Linked DNA regions of Homo sapiens: region 2 is linked to region 1. Evidence: promoter capture Hi-C in 16 types of primary human blood cells and fetal thymus (Javierre and others, 2016). All regions are on one chromosome and are shown on one strand. Each heading gives the region's core, a stretch centred on a gene start or on the middle of the fragment in contact. The rest is flanking DNA. Distances are from core to core; before and after follow the strand shown.

Region 1 (7,029 bases), core at 1,867-4,366:
TGCTTGGTTTGTGGGGAGGCCTCAGGAAACTTACAATCATGGCGGAAAGCAAAAGGAGAGCAGGCATGTCACATGACCAAAGCAGGAGCAAGAGGTGACAGGAGGTGCCACACACTTTAAATGACTAGATCTCACGAGAACTCACTCATCACAGGAACAGCACAAACGGGATGGCGCTAAACCATTCATGAGAAATCTGTCCCCATGACCCAGTCACCTCCCACCAGGCTCCAGCTCCAACACTGGAGATTACATTTCAACATGAGATTTGGGCAGGACATCCAAACCCTATCAATCACCTTCTGGGGTAGAATTTAAATATATGAATTTGGATGTGAGGACACAAATATTCAGACCATAGCATTATCTTATGTCATTTCAGTTTAGTATCTTACATGAGGTTGCAGTCAACCTATCAGCTGGGGCTGCAGTCATTTCTGAGTTTGAATGAGGATGGAGCATCCCCTTCCAGGATGACTTACTCATGTAGTTGTTGGAAAGAGGCTGTTTTTCCCTAGCTGTTGGTCTCAGTTCTTTGCTATATGGGCTTCTCCATGGAGCTGCTCACAACAAGGCAGCTGGTTTCCCCAGAGCAAGTGGTTTGTGAACCCCCAATATCTGAGACAGGTCTCAGTTCATTTAGAAAGTTTATTTTGCCGAGGTTGAGGATGTGTGCCCGTGACACAGCCTCAGGAGGTCCTGATGACATGTGTCCAAGGTGGTCAGAGCACAGCTTGGTTTTATACATTTTAGGGAGACATGAGACATCGATCAACATATCTAAGATGAACGATGGATTGGTCCGGAAAGGTGAGACAACTCAAAGCAAAGGCAGGACAACTTGAAGCGGGGAGGGGGCTTCCAGGTCTTGGGTAGATGAGAGAAAAATGGTTGCATTCTATTGAGTTTCTTTTTTTCTTTCTTTCTTTTAAAATTTTATTTATTTATTTATTTATTTATTTTGAGATGGAGTCTCACCCTGTCGCCCAGGCTGGAGAGCAGTGGCGTGATCTCGGCTCACTGCAACCTGCGCCTCCCAGGTCCAAGCAATTCTTCTGCCTCAGTCTCCCAAGTAGCTGGGATTACAGGTGTGTACGACCACAACCGGCTAATTTTTGTATTTTTAAAAGAGGGTTTCACCATGTTGGCCAGGCTGGTCTTGTACTCGTGATCTCAAATGATCCACCCACCTCAGCCTCCCAAAGTGCTGGGATTACAGGCGTAAGCCACCGCGCCCAGACATTTTGAGTCTCTGATTAGCCTCTCCAAAGGTGGCAATCAGATACGCATTTATCTCAGTGAGCGGAGAAGTGACTGTGAATAGAATGTGAGGCAGGTTTGCCCTAAGCAGTTTCCAACTTGACTTTTCTTTTAGCTTAGTAATTGTAGGACCCCAAGATTTATCTTCCTTTCGCAGGTTGGAAGGAAAGAGATGCCACACTACCTTTCATGAACTAATGTCCAAATCATACATCATCACTTCTGTGTTTTTCAGTTTATTATGAGCAAATGAAGTCACTAAGTCCAGTACATACTCGACAAGAGGGAATACACAAGAGTGAGAATACCAGGAGTAAGAAATCACTGGGAGTCATCTTGAAGGCTGGCTAGCAATCACAGTTTGCCCCCTGACTACCAATTCTTCATGCCATTTTAACGTGCTAACCACACTCCCCTCTATCCAAGGTCCCCAAAAGTTACATTTTTTTAAATCTCATGTAGTTTTAGGTATTACTATCCTATTGTCACATCAGCTTTAAGTCCAGAATTTTGTCTTCTCAATAAGATCAGATGTAGATGAGGCTTTCTGAGCTTAGTTCCTTAAATTCAGCTCCTAGAGTACAATTCTTCTTGATCTGTAGACTTTTGAAACTAAGGAGACAAGTTCTCTGCCCCCATGCCTGGAATATACAGTTGTGGGGCTGGCACAGGATAATCACTACAGACCTGTTCTGCTCCACTACGACTAGATTAGCCACTGCCACTCCTGTTCAAAAAGGGGGAAATTGGAAGTACAAACAAGTTGCCAGCCCACAGTAACTCTGCCATCCAGTCTCAAGGTCTAGGACTCCATGACTCCCAGTTCCACCATCTGGGCTCCTGGTTTCATGCCCTGAGTTATACTTCCTTTTTTGTGAAATGTGGCATGTGTTTGCCAATGAGTCTTTTTCTCAGTCTGATTCCTGCTTGTACAAGTTTGGGGAGAGGGGATCCAAAGGCCTGTTCCTTTCAGTCCAATCTGCAATGTTTGTGTCAATATAATTATCTTTAAAAAACTTTATAGGTCTCCTGTGAATCTCATCGGGGTTCACTCCGTTAAACAAAAGTGCTACCTACAAATCCCTTTGAGATAAGTCCATCTCTATCTTGGGCTTCTGCTAATACTGACGAACAAGCCTTAAGCCTTCTGGAGGCCTTGTGGTTTGACTGATGGACTCTGTGAGCCACACCATTAATCTCTTTAAGGAGCTGTTAGTCTAACTGAATGGTATTCTCAGGCACCGTCTTTGCTTTTTTTTTTGAGATTTTAAAGGATTTAACCGTCACATCTCAACTTCACCTTTGTTTTTTTCTGGCAGTACCCTGGATTTGATATTTGCTTGGAAACTATTACTATTTCTTAGTTTTACGCCATTTGCAATCAGGCGAAGCTGAGGACTTTAAAAATCATCCAAAGTCGTCAAGGTCCATCCCTTTTGTGTTTCGTCTTGCTTATCTCATTTATTTTACTATAAACAGCAAAAAGAAATGAAGGACAGGAGGGAGACGTTCATGGGTGCTGGACATGTCCTACCTGTTGGTCTGGATAGAAGATGCATGGTTGTATGGATGTGTACAAAGTCATCAATGTGCACACTTAAAATGTATGCACTGTATTGTATTCCTGCTATACCTTCGCTTAAAAAAGAAAAAAAAGGTTGAATGTGAGTTCGGGCGTGAGAAAACAGCAGCGCGCATGCGTGAGCGTGAGCGCGCATGCGTGAGCGTGAGCGCGCTGGGAGGCCGGAAACAAAGGTGGATGCGCGTGAACAGACGCCCTCGCAGGCCGCCGGAAGCAAAGGCGTGAGCGCGCGTGCGTGCGTGTGCGGGTGCGTGAGCGTGAGCGCGCGGAGGCCGGAAGCGAGCGCTGCGCAGTCGGGTGGTCGCGGGCCATGGAGGGTAGCTTTTCGGATGGCGGAGCGCTGCCGGAGGGGCTCGCGGAAGAGGCCGAGCCGCAGGGCGCCGCCTGGAGCGGGGACAGTGGCACTGTTTCCCAGAGCCACAGCAGCGCCTCGGGGCCGTGGGAGGACGAGGGCGCGGAGGACGGCGCGCCGGGCCGCGACCTGCCGCTGCTTCGCCGCGCCGCTGCGGGCTACGCCGCCTGCCTGCTGCCCGGGGCCGGGGCGCGGCCCGAGGTCGAGGCCCTGGACGCGAGCCTAGAGGACCTGCTTACCAGAGTGGACGAGTTCGTGGGCATGCTGGACATGCTTCGCGGCGACTCGTCCCACGTCGTCAGCGAGGGCGTGCCGCGCATCCACGCGAAGGCCGCCGAGATGCGGCGCATCTACAGCAGGATCGACCGGCTGGAGGCCTTCGTGAGGATGGTGGGGGGCCGCGTGGCCAGGATGGAGGAGCAGGTCACCAAGGCCGAGGCCGAGCTGGGCACCTTCCCCAGGGCGTTCAAGAAGCTCCTGCACACGATGAACGTGCCCTCGCTCTTTAGCAAGTCTGCTCCCTCGAGGCCACAGCAAGCCGGCTACGAAGCCCCCGTCCTGTTTCGGACCGAAGACTACTTCCCTTGTTGCAGTGAAAGGCCTCAGCTCTGACGGCCTGACCACTGCGGCAAGAGGACCCCAGCTGGGGTGCTTACCTCCAGTATGAAGTGAATTGCAAATCCTGCTTATGGACATATATGATGTTGGAGTGTGGGATTTTAAAGTTTACTTTCTACAAACTCTCCGTAGTATATTCATGATTCAGTGTAGAATGTATAGACTTTATGTCTTCCAAGTTTAAAAAAAGAGACAGGGTCTTGGTATGTTGCCCAGACTGTTCGGAAACTCCTGGGCTCAAGTGATCCTTCCACCTCAGCCTCCCCAGTAGCTGGGACTACGGGGTCGCCACTGCACCCAGCCTGTGTCTTCCAGCTCTAATCAGAAAGCTGCTTGTCGAGGGCATGGGGAATCAAACTGAATGAACTTTTCTCTGCACTGTGGCAAAACTGTTATTTTTATGGATTTTACTAAATGGCGTTACCTTTTCAAGATTTATATGTTTGTATAATCATAAGAAAATTGAGCCATTAAAGCCTTGTTATTCAATCCTAATAGTCAGTTTTCTAGAACCTACTTTTAGGGTAAATGGTACATTATTTAATATTATATTAAACCTCCTATAGCGTGGATTGTAGACCAAAGGAAATGGTACAATTTCTGAGAATATATGTTGATTTTTTGTGACTAATTCCAAAGTTGTATTTGAAAGTATGACCTCACAGTCTTCATTTGTCCATAGCAAACATATGTGTGTGTGTGTGTATATATATATGTGGGTTGCCAATGTTTGGTTTATAATTTAAATGTTAATAGAAATTTTGAGTTTTATTGGAAATGATTTCCTTCTGAAAAGAGCTTTACGTATTTCCTTGTGTGTGTTTGAAATAGACGTACTGCTCATGTGCTTTTTTAGTAGTGGGATAAAGAAAAGGGGCTTGAGTATACCTCCTTTAGAGAGCTAATGTGAAAAGCTGTAGCTTCTATTTCAGAGCATGGTATATTTCTTTTCTTTTTTTTTTTTTTTTTTTTTTTTGAGACGGAGTCATGCTCTGTCGCCCAGGCTGGAGTGCAGTGGCGCAATCTCGGCCCACTGCAAGCTCCGCCTCCCGCGTTCACGCCATTCTCCTGCCTCAGCCTCCTGAGTAGCTGGGACTACAGGCGCCTGCCACCATGCCCGGCTAATTTTTTTTGTATTTTGTATTTTTTTTTAGTAGAGACGGGTTTTCACTGTGTTAGCCAGGATGGTCTCGATCCCCTGACCTCGTGATCCACCTGCCTCGGCCTCCCAAAGTGCTGAGATTACAGGCGTGAGCCACCGCGCCCGTCCAGAGCATGGTATATTTCTTTCCTCTCGAAATGGATAGTTAAATTATTTGTGTGAGTGAATGGTATTAGGATTTTCCTGCGGATACAGTAGACTTTTATTGAGATTCAAATCTATTTTATAAGGTGGCCCTCCTAAATAGTAGATGCTAAAAAAGCATACAGCTTAGGTTGCTTTTGTGTCATTTGCAGTGTCATCAAAGATCTTTGAGGTTCATAGAGTAGCTGTATTTTCATTTAGCTGTGTGTTGTGAAGAATCTGATCATGTAATCTTGCACCTAGCTTTCGTGGACCTTCATTGTCACATATTTACGTTTTTTATTCAGGTGGTTCATTGACGACAAATTAAGGAACTCTGAATGTAGAAGCTGAAAGAACAAGTAACCTACATTTAATATTCAGCAACTGCTGGTACCCCTATAAGTAATTCATGTGTTTCGATGACATAGTCACTGAATATGAAAATATCCTTACATAACAAAACATTGCTAAAAGATTTTTCACTTAAAGTTAACATTCAAAAGCAGTAATTAGGGGCCGGGCGCGGTAGTTCACAAGCACTTTGAGAGGCTGAGGCAGGCGGATCACAAGGTCAGGAGATCGAGACCATCCTGGCTAACATGGTGAAACCCTGTCTACTAAAAATACAAAAAAAAAAAAAAAAAATTAGCCAGGCATGGTGGTGGGCGCCTGTGGTCCCAGCTACTCAGGAGGCTGTGGCGGGAAAATGGTGTGAACCCGGGAGTCGGAGCGGAGATGACGCCACTGCACTCCAGCCGGGGCGACAGAGCAAGACTCTGTCTGAAAAAAAAGAAAAAAGAACTAATATCCACCTATCCACCTTGGCACTCCCACAATGCATATTCCCAGTGCTCTGTCCATCCCCACTGCTACCCAACCCATCCAAGCCACTGGCATCTCTCCTGGGCCACTCAACAGCCTCTTAAGTGGTCTCCTGCTTCCCCTTCCCCGCTCCAAGCCACTCCCGCATGTAACACATCAGCCAAAGGGGTCTTTAAACAACATAAATCAGACATATTGGGCTTTGCCTAAAGCTCTCATTAGCTTCTCTTCATATTAGAATAAAGCCCAATTTCTGTTCTCTGGCTTGAGGTGGCTCCTGCCCCCTTGCTCACTCCCCTGCAGCCTTCCCTTGACCTCGAAAGATGCCCCATAGCATCTTTCATATGAGGATATGGAAAGGGGACATATGAACTGTCCCCTTCATAGCGCTTGTTACAGTTTGTGAAATGTGTTTGTGTCATTATCTGATGACTGTCTGCCTTACTCACCTGGAGTAACAAGTGGATGTTAGCTGCATCCACTTGGCTGCATGCTCAGCAAGCAGGTAGCACATCCCTGGTACACTCACATATCTGTGCAATAAGCGATTGTCAGAGTGACTGAGTGAATGAACGACTACACAAAATGTAGGCACTCCATAAGGAATGCGAGACAGAAAGGCAGACAGGAGAATTCAGTCAGACTAAGGGCTGGCTCAGAAATCAAGCACCATGGGAAGACTAGGACACAAAGAAAAACAAGATGTGATTCTTTCCCAAGAGCTGGGCAGGCCAGTGGGTGAGAAAGTCAGACGCCCAATCCAGTTGAGTCCAACCTAAGGTTCAGTCAAACACCACACAGACATTCCCGTGGGCTCCAATGGGGCTTTGTTCCTAATCGTGCCCTGGGATGTTGATACAGAACTTACAAAACTATCCTTCTAAGAAGACTCCTTTTATGTGCTGAGAAGTTATCCAGATTCAGGCACAGTGGCTCATGCCTGTATTCCCAGGGCTTTGGGAGGCCTAGGCCAGAGGATCACTGGAGGCCAGAAGTTCGAGGCCAGCCTGGGCAACATAGTGAGACCCCGGCTCTACTAAAAATACAAAAATTAGCCAGGCACGGTGGCTCGTGCCTTGTAGTCCCAGCTACTCAGGAGGCTGAGGC
Region 2 (7,829 bases), core at 4,051-6,550, 150 kb before region 1:
ATAGGCATAAATATCCCCATTTTAAAGGTTAGAACCTGGAGGCTCTGGGTCAGGCTGCCAGGAGCCATGGGATGCATCGTCCCTGCCCCAGGGTTAAGTGACTTGCTCACACTGCAGGTGAGCTGTGGAGGTGGGATGAGCCCCTCAGCTGAGCTTTCTGCACACACCAGGGCATGGCCCATTTCCTTGAGTGTGCAAGGGAGACAGGCATGCAGGTAATAATACATTCATTTATTCTTTCGACGGAAGGTAGACAGCCCCTCCTTTCTCCCAGGTGCCAAATCTGGTAGTGAACAAAACGAAGTCTCACGGAGCGTATGGTGTAGCGGGTGAGGAAGATGTTAACCAAATGCACACGTTACTATTGAATTCTATACAGCCATCAATGCTGTAGAGAGGGGAGGTTCACAGACGCTCTCTTTGGCCTTCCATGTGCAAGACACAAAGGAGGAATAGCAGTCCACTGCACAGAGTGGAGGCAGTGCTTCCAGGCAGGAGGGTCAGCACGTGCAAAGGGCTTGAGGTAGGAAGGGACTTGAAGGATCCAGTCGTGCAAGGGTGGTGGCCAAAGGAAGCCAGCTCATTCTAGGCAGAAGAGACACACAGAGGAGGAAAGGGGGGTGAGGATGGGGAGCCATGGGGCCTGTTTGCAGTTGCTGGAAGGAATGTAGTACAAGCATGTGGGAGGTACGGCCAAAAAAGCAAGTTGGGGCTAAACCCTGAATTGTTTGCAATGCAGGCTGAGGATGAGGTTTCCTGAGAGACACTGGGTAGCCATAGAAGGTTTGGAGGTAGGAGTATGCCAGGGTCCATGCTGCTGATCGGGAAGACTGTTTGGCACTGGACGTAGTCTCAAGCAGTTCGCCCATTAAAGCAAGAGGAAGTCCCCCAGAACTGTCCCACTTGCTCAGGAGGACGAAGAGTGCTGATGTCACAGGGTGCAGACTGAATGGGAGATGGCGCTGGTGGGCCCCTATCGCAAACTCTCACACCTGCAGAGGTCAGGCTGTTGCTCCTTGTGAGTCACCTGGGACAAGTCTGATGAAGAAGGGCGAGGGCACACACTACACTTCGCAAGGGTAGCGATGGCCGTTTCGAGGAGCATCAATGCCAGAGAACACTAGCATGATCTGAAAGAGTCCACGTTGCTGTATAGGCCCCTCTGGAACCTGCGTTTTTCATGACAGAGCTTTGATTCAAATGAGAAGCATTTTGCAGAACATCTCTTCAGAGTGGGGGTTGGCGGGGGGATACACATTTGGCATCAGCTTTTTTTCTGACAACAATTTGCTACTAGTAACCAAAGTAACAGAACCCAAAACCTAAAATAGCCTCTTCGGGCTGGGCACGCCAGAGCCTGTTCTTAGAAAGAAATGTTTCTAGGCTGTAGTCTGTCCCTGCAGTGAAATGCCAACCCCCGTGAAGTGAAGCTGAACTTTCATCTGAGATTGTCACAGAAGCTGCCCAGACACTTCCCCCAACCCAGGAGACTCCCCCAACTTCACTGCAATGAGGAATCCCCTCCCCCAACCCTAGCCACAAAAGGGTGTGTCCCCAAGGCCAGGATGGACACTCTCAGTGCTGGTACAGCTCAGAAAACAGTTGAGGAGGAAAAAGAAACCAACTCAGACCAGCCATTAGAAGAGACCAAGGGGAAATGAAATAAATGCTTTGTATCAACACGGGCCTGTGCACATTGCACCTAGACCACATCATCATCCCTGACTCCCCACGGCTCAAACAGCACATCAAATTCATCAGCAGTTTCCGTCAGCTCTTCCTGCAAAACACATTCAAGCCCGACCATATGTCACCACCCCCACTGCTATTCCCAGGTCCCAGCCACCATCATGTCTCACCTGGACTATTGCACGCACCTCCTACTTGGTCTCCCCACTTCTGCCCCGGCCGGGGCTGGTGTGTTCTCCACCCAGCAACACAGCAGTCAGAGGGATCCTCTTACAACATAAGTCAGATCACCTCACTCTTTGCTCAAAATCCTGCAATGGCTCCCATCTCCTTCAGAGTAAATTCCAAAGCCCCATATCTGCCCACTGCCCCCCACTCTAGAACCTTCCCTCCTGTTGTTCTTCCCCTGGTTCCCTCCATTCCAGCTACAGGGATCTCCTTGCTGGCTCCTGAGCTTACCAGGTATGGTGCTGCCTCAGGGCCTTTGCACTTGCAGTGACTGCTGCCCAGTAAGTTTGGTAAGGTTGGTCCCCAGACATCCACACCGCCCTCTTCTGCACCTCCTGCTCAGATGTCACTTTCTCAATGTGGCTTTTGCTATTTAAAACTGCACCCCTTTAAATTGTACCCAGTTTAAAACTGTACCCCCTACCCTACCCTCCTGATGGAGTTTGGATATTTGTCCCCTCCAAATCTCATGTTGAAATGTGATCCCTGTCAGGTGTCATGGTTCACGCCTGTAATTCCAGCACTTTGGGAGACCGAGGCAGGCAGATCACCTGAGGTTAGGAGTTCAAGACCAGCTTGGCCAACAGGGTGAAACTCCATCTCTACTAAAAATACAAAAATTAGCTGGGTGTAGTGGCAGGCGCCTGTGATCCCAGCTACTCAGGAGGCTGAGGCAGGAGGATTGCTTGAACTCGGGAGGTGGAGGTTGCAGTGAGCCGAGATCGCGCCACTGCACTCCAGGCTGGGAGACAAGAGCAAAAACTCTGTCTCAAAAAAAAAAAAAAAAGCAAGAACCAGCCCAGGGCTGAGTTATGAAGAGGGGTGCTGCAGACTAGGCCAGGTCCCCAACCTTGTCAGGTCTGCAATGCCAAGCTTCCAGACCTGATCACAAAGGAGTGGGACTCCAAGAAGAGCGCGATGGGATGTCTGGGTGAATGCACAGTCTCCACCTGTGGTTCCCCAGATTTACCTGGACACTCTGGGCCTGCAGAATTGCCCAAGTCCTCCCTCAGAGGATAACAGGCTCTCTCCTTGCCTAAAGATGATACCGCGGCCTTCAACGTGGAAGACCAAACATCCTGCCCTCCGAATCCACCTATAACCTGTGCCGCCCACCAGATTCATCACTGGGGTTAAGCCACAACCACACCCACCTGGGGACATGCTGGGCCAGCCAGGGAGGACAAGACTACACCCCAAAGGAGCTATGGACCCAGCCAGCACGGAGCAGTGGGGGTGGGACAGTGCTCTTGGGACCGGATCAAGGGCAGGAGGAGCTCATGAAATGGGGGACTTCTCCCATTGTTATGGACTCAATTGTATTCCCCAAAAAAATTCATAGATGGAAGCTCTAACCTCCAATGTGACTGTATTTGGAGATAGGGCCTATAAGGACGTGATTAAGGTGAAATGAGGTCATCAGGGTGAGACCCTAACCTGATAAGCCTGGTATCCTTAGAAAACAAGGAAAAGACACCAGATCTCATTCTCTCTCTCTCTCTCTCCCTCCCTCCCTCTTCCTTCCCTCCCCCTTCCTCCTGCCTTACATGCACAGAGGAAAGGCTATATGAGGACACAGGGAGAAGAGAGCCATCTACAAGCCAAGAAGCGAGCCCTCTCCAGAAACCGATCCTGCTGGTACCTTGATCTTGGACTTCCAGCCTCCAGAACCAGGAGAAAATAAATGTCTGCTGTTTAAGCCGCTCAGTCTGTGGTTTCTTCTTATGGCAGCCCGAGATGACTAACACACCAGTCATGCCGGATTTAACAGCAGGAGACAGTGCTAACGCACTGCTGAAGTGGCTCTTGAAACTTGGAGAAAGATGGCAGATGACAGAAGAAGGGATCAAAAGACAGAGAAGTGGGCATGGACCGGAGCAGGCAGAAAACCCACTGGGTGACAGCGTTCCACAAGACACCACCAAGGACGTCCCACTGACCCAGCACCGGCTTCACCAGGTAGCTCAGGGATGGGGCTGTCCACCATAGGCCAGGGTGGGTGGTGGGAGGTGCCGTTACAGAACCAGGTTTGCTGAGAGAGCTGGGAATAAGAGGATCCAGAAATAAGGGGCTAGGAGCCTGCACCAAACCACTGGAAGCAAGGTCAGTGCAATCACTTTAACAAGCACCAAGGCTGGAACACAGTGAGGTCCACGGCGAGCCATGGAGATGCTTGATAGAAAACGGCACCTGGCCGGGTGTGGTGGCTCATGCCTATAATCCTAGCACTTTGAAAGTCTGAGGCAGGTAGATCACCTGAGGTCAGGAGTTCAAGACCAACCTGGCCGACATGGTGAAACCCCATCTCTACTTAAAAAAAAAAAAAAATTAGCCAGGCCGTGGTGGCTGGCTCCTGTAATCCCAGCTACTCGGGAGGCTGAGGCAGGAGAATTGCTTGAACACAGGAGGTGGAGGTTGCAGTGAGCCATGATCATGCCATTGCACTCCAGCCTGGGCAACAAGAGTAAAACTCCAAAAAAAAGAAAGAAGAAAGAGAGAAAGAGAGGAAAGAAAGAAAGAAAGAAAGAGAGAGAGAGAGAGAGAGAGAGAAAGAAAGAAAGAAAGAAAGAAAGAAAGAAAGGAAGAGAGAGAGAGAGAAAGAAAGAAAGAAAGAGAGAGAGAAAGAAAGAAAAGAAAAGAAGGAAGGAAGGAAAGAAGGAAGGAAGGAAGAAAGAAAAAGAAAGGAGGGAGGGAGGGAGGGAAGGAAGGAAGGAAGGAGATGGAAGGAAGGAGAAGGAAGAAAGGAAGGAGAAAGATAGAAAGAAAGAAAGCGAAAGAAAGGAAGGAAGGAGATGGAGGAAGGAAGGGAGGAAGAAAAGAGAGAGAGGAAGGAAGGAGAAAGAGAGACGAAAGAAAGGGAGGGAGGGAAGGGAAGGGAAGGAAGGAAGGAATGAGATGGAAGGAAGGAAAGAGAGAAAGGAAGGAAGGAGAAAGGAGAGAAAGAAAGAAAAAGAAGGAAAGAAAGAAAGAAAGAAAGAAAGAAAGAAAGAAAGAAAGAAAGAAAAAGAAAGAAAGAAGGAAGGAAAGAAAGAAAGAAAGAGGCAAGATAGATGGATGGCTGACACAGGTGAGACTTGGCCCATCCTCTCTGGACAAATCAAGGCAGATGGGGTTAGGAAGTTGAGGGTAGCCACCCAAAGATAAATCCTGATCCCTTGCCCAGTGTCCAGACCTGAGCCAGTTTTCAAGTCCAGATCCCATCCACTGAAAGGAAAAGCGTGTTTCCAGGAAGAAGGACTCTGCAACATCGTAACAAAGGCCTATGGGAATCCCCTACTCCTTCCCCAACAGGACTGATGCTCATTGACTCAGGTAACCAGACACTAGGGAAAAATACCCAAATATTTCAAGAAATGTGGCTGAAAGCAGCAATAGACGTTTATGATCATCCCGGTGTCTGCAGGTGAAGAATCCAGGGTGGCTTCGCTGTGTGTTGTGCCTTGTGGGCCTCCCTGAGGTTGCAGTCAGGATGTCCTCTGGAATGGCTGGGCCTGGGCTGGAGGGCCTGCTTCCAAGGCACTCACACCCGGGCTGGCAAGACAGTGCCGGCTGTTGGTGGGAGGCCTCTGTTCCTCTGTAGATGGGCCTCTCCACAGATGGCTTGAGAGTCCTCATGACATGGTGGCCGGCTTGCTCCAGTATTAGAGCCCCAAGCGAGGGTGTAACATCACATCAGGCCAAGGGCTCCACTTCACAGCAAAAGAGGTGCAACCGCAGGCACACCCATGGTGTCTAGTGGTCCTATTATGTGCTGTACAACCCAGAGGCTGCTGGCTGATGGGGAAATGGAGTGGCCAGTTGAAGGCTCAGCCACAGCACCAGCTTGGAGGTGCCACCTGTGAAGCAAGGGCACCATCCTCCAGGGTGTATGTACATCCCAAGTCAATGACCAGTACACGATGTCCCCAGTGGGTAAAATACCTGGGCCTAAGAACCAAAGAATGGAAGCAGGAATAGCCTAATTTAGCATCACTCTCAGTGACCTACTTGGAGAATATGTGCTTCCTGTCCACACAACTACAGATTCTGTAGGTTCAGAGGTTCTGGTTTCCAAAGGGGAATGCTTCCACCAAGCGACACCAGTCACGCCAGGCTACTCATGTCAAGACACCAGTAGGCAGGGGAAGAGTCACCCATCGAGCAGGGGCAGTTGACCTGAACCATCAGAGGAGGTAGGGTTGCTGTCACACAATGGAAGCAGAGAAGACTGTGTGCCACCCACATGGGTGTCCCTCAGGACTCTTTCACCTGATGTAGTCAGCAAATAGGCAAGTGAGCAGCTATGGCTCAAGAAGGGAATGGTCACCAGGGGCTCATCCTCGTTGGTGAGGATCTGGGGCAACCCACCAGGTAAGCTATCTAGTCCAGCATGGGTCTAGCTGAGGGTGAAAGGGATCTGAATGAATAATCCAGGAGGGGGTTGTGAGTATCACCTTCAAGCCTGAGACTAGCTGCAGCAAGAGCTCACGCAAGAGCCTTGAGGAAAGTACAAATGAAACCCTACACAGCTGTGATACAGTGGGCAGGAGAGAAAATGACATGAGGTCTCACATGTTGTTGTAGTCAGATGGGGGGCTGGAGCTGAAACAGCATGGTGATCTTGAGCTGCTCCCTGTGGTCTGCCCCATGTGGGCTGGTTGGGCTTCCTCACAGCATGGTGGCCTCAGGGTAGTTGGACTGCTGACAGGGCAACTCAGGCCTCCAGGCACGAGTGCTCCAGTGAACATGGATGTCATGGAAGTCACACAGTACAACTTTCACTACATTCTCTTTGTAACAAGTGTGTCACAAGCCCGCCCATGGGCCAGGCACAGTGGCTTATGCATGTAATCCCAACACTTTCGGAGAATCCCTTGAGGCTAGGAGTTTGAGACCAGCCTGGGCAACATAGAGAGATCTTGTCTACAAAAAAGAAAAGAAAAATTAGTTGGGCATGGTGGCATACACCTATAATTTCAGCACTTTGTGAGATGGTGGTGGGAGGATGCCTCGAGCCCAGGAGTTCAAGATCAGCCTGGGCAACATAACGGGATATTATATCTAAAAAAAAAAGAAAAAAAAAAGTTTTCATTAGCCAGGCATGATGGCACATACCTGTGGTCTCAGCTACTCAGGAGGCTGAAACAGGGGGATCACGTGAGCCTAGGAGTTTGAGGCTGAAGTAAGTTAGGAGTCCACCACTGCACTCTGGCCTGGGCAACAGAGCAAGACTCTATCTCTAAAAAACACAAAAATTAATAAAATAAAAAACAATAAATAAACAAGATTCAATGAGAGGAGACATAGACCCTATCTCCTAATAGGAAGAATGTCAAGATCATATTGTAAATCAAAAATAAAATTATAAGCCCCAGCTGAGAGAATGGACCCCCTGTCGGCCAAGGGGACCCCAAAGAAACCCAAAAAACTAGTTCAGGCCATGATGGGAAGTGGGAGGTCACACATGCCTCATCATAGCCTCCTCCCTTTAAGTTTCGGCACAGCTGACCAGCATTAACATTAACATAGAGATCCTCCTAAGACTGACAGAACACTTTTGTAGCAATCAGATACCCGATTCTAACATGACTCTGGTATAGCAACACACGACAGAGAGCAGGCCCTAAAGGAAATCAAAGTATTTTACCCCAAAATAAATTTTCTTTGACATATTTTGAAATGGACTTGCAAAGTCATCTCTTGTGGGGGAAACTTGCATTCTGTAGAGAATCTCCTTACTTACTAGCTCTTTTCCAGAGAGTCTGATACCTTTTAAGGTCCCCAGAGACATGCACATCTATTCTCTCTGAAGCCTGCTAACTGGAGGCTTCATCTATGTAACAAGAACCTTAGCTTCCACATCCCCATTGTCTTAACTCAAGCATTTCTTTCTGCCGACTCCAACTCTTCAGGTAAAGCTTAACTCTTTTAAC

What was found. Contacts are between HindIII fragments. The CHiCAGO score rates a contact against its expected background, and 5 or more counts as called.
Region 2: a fragment that was not itself captured here is called in contact with the fragment with the promoter of BLOC1S4 in region 1 in 2 of 17 cell types (neutrophils and megakaryocytes); the score reaches 5.9 in neutrophils.

The regions. Positions count from the first base shown.
Region 1 is chr4:6,713,058-6,720,086 of GRCh38, forward strand. BLOC1S4 (biogenesis of lysosomal organelles complex 1 subunit 4) reads left to right here and starts at 3,117. Exons shown (of 1, transcript NM_018366.3): 1 at 3,117-4,607. The coding sequence starts at 3,153. The coding sequence ends at 3,806. LOC105378240 (a long non-coding RNA gene) reads left to right here. Exons shown (of 3, transcript XR_001741568.3): 2 at 754-810; 3 at 967-1,088. RefSeq lists enhancers at 2,837-3,036, 3,519-4,158 and a silencer at 3,317-3,366. The HindIII fragment of the contact is 17,705 bases long and covers 1-7,029 here.
Region 2 is chr4:6,565,250-6,573,078 of GRCh38, forward strand. LOC105374365 (a long non-coding RNA gene) reads left to right here and starts at 3,480. Exons shown (of 3, transcript XR_925098.3): 1 at 3,480-3,876. The HindIII fragment of the contact is 5,024 bases long and covers 2,789-7,812 here.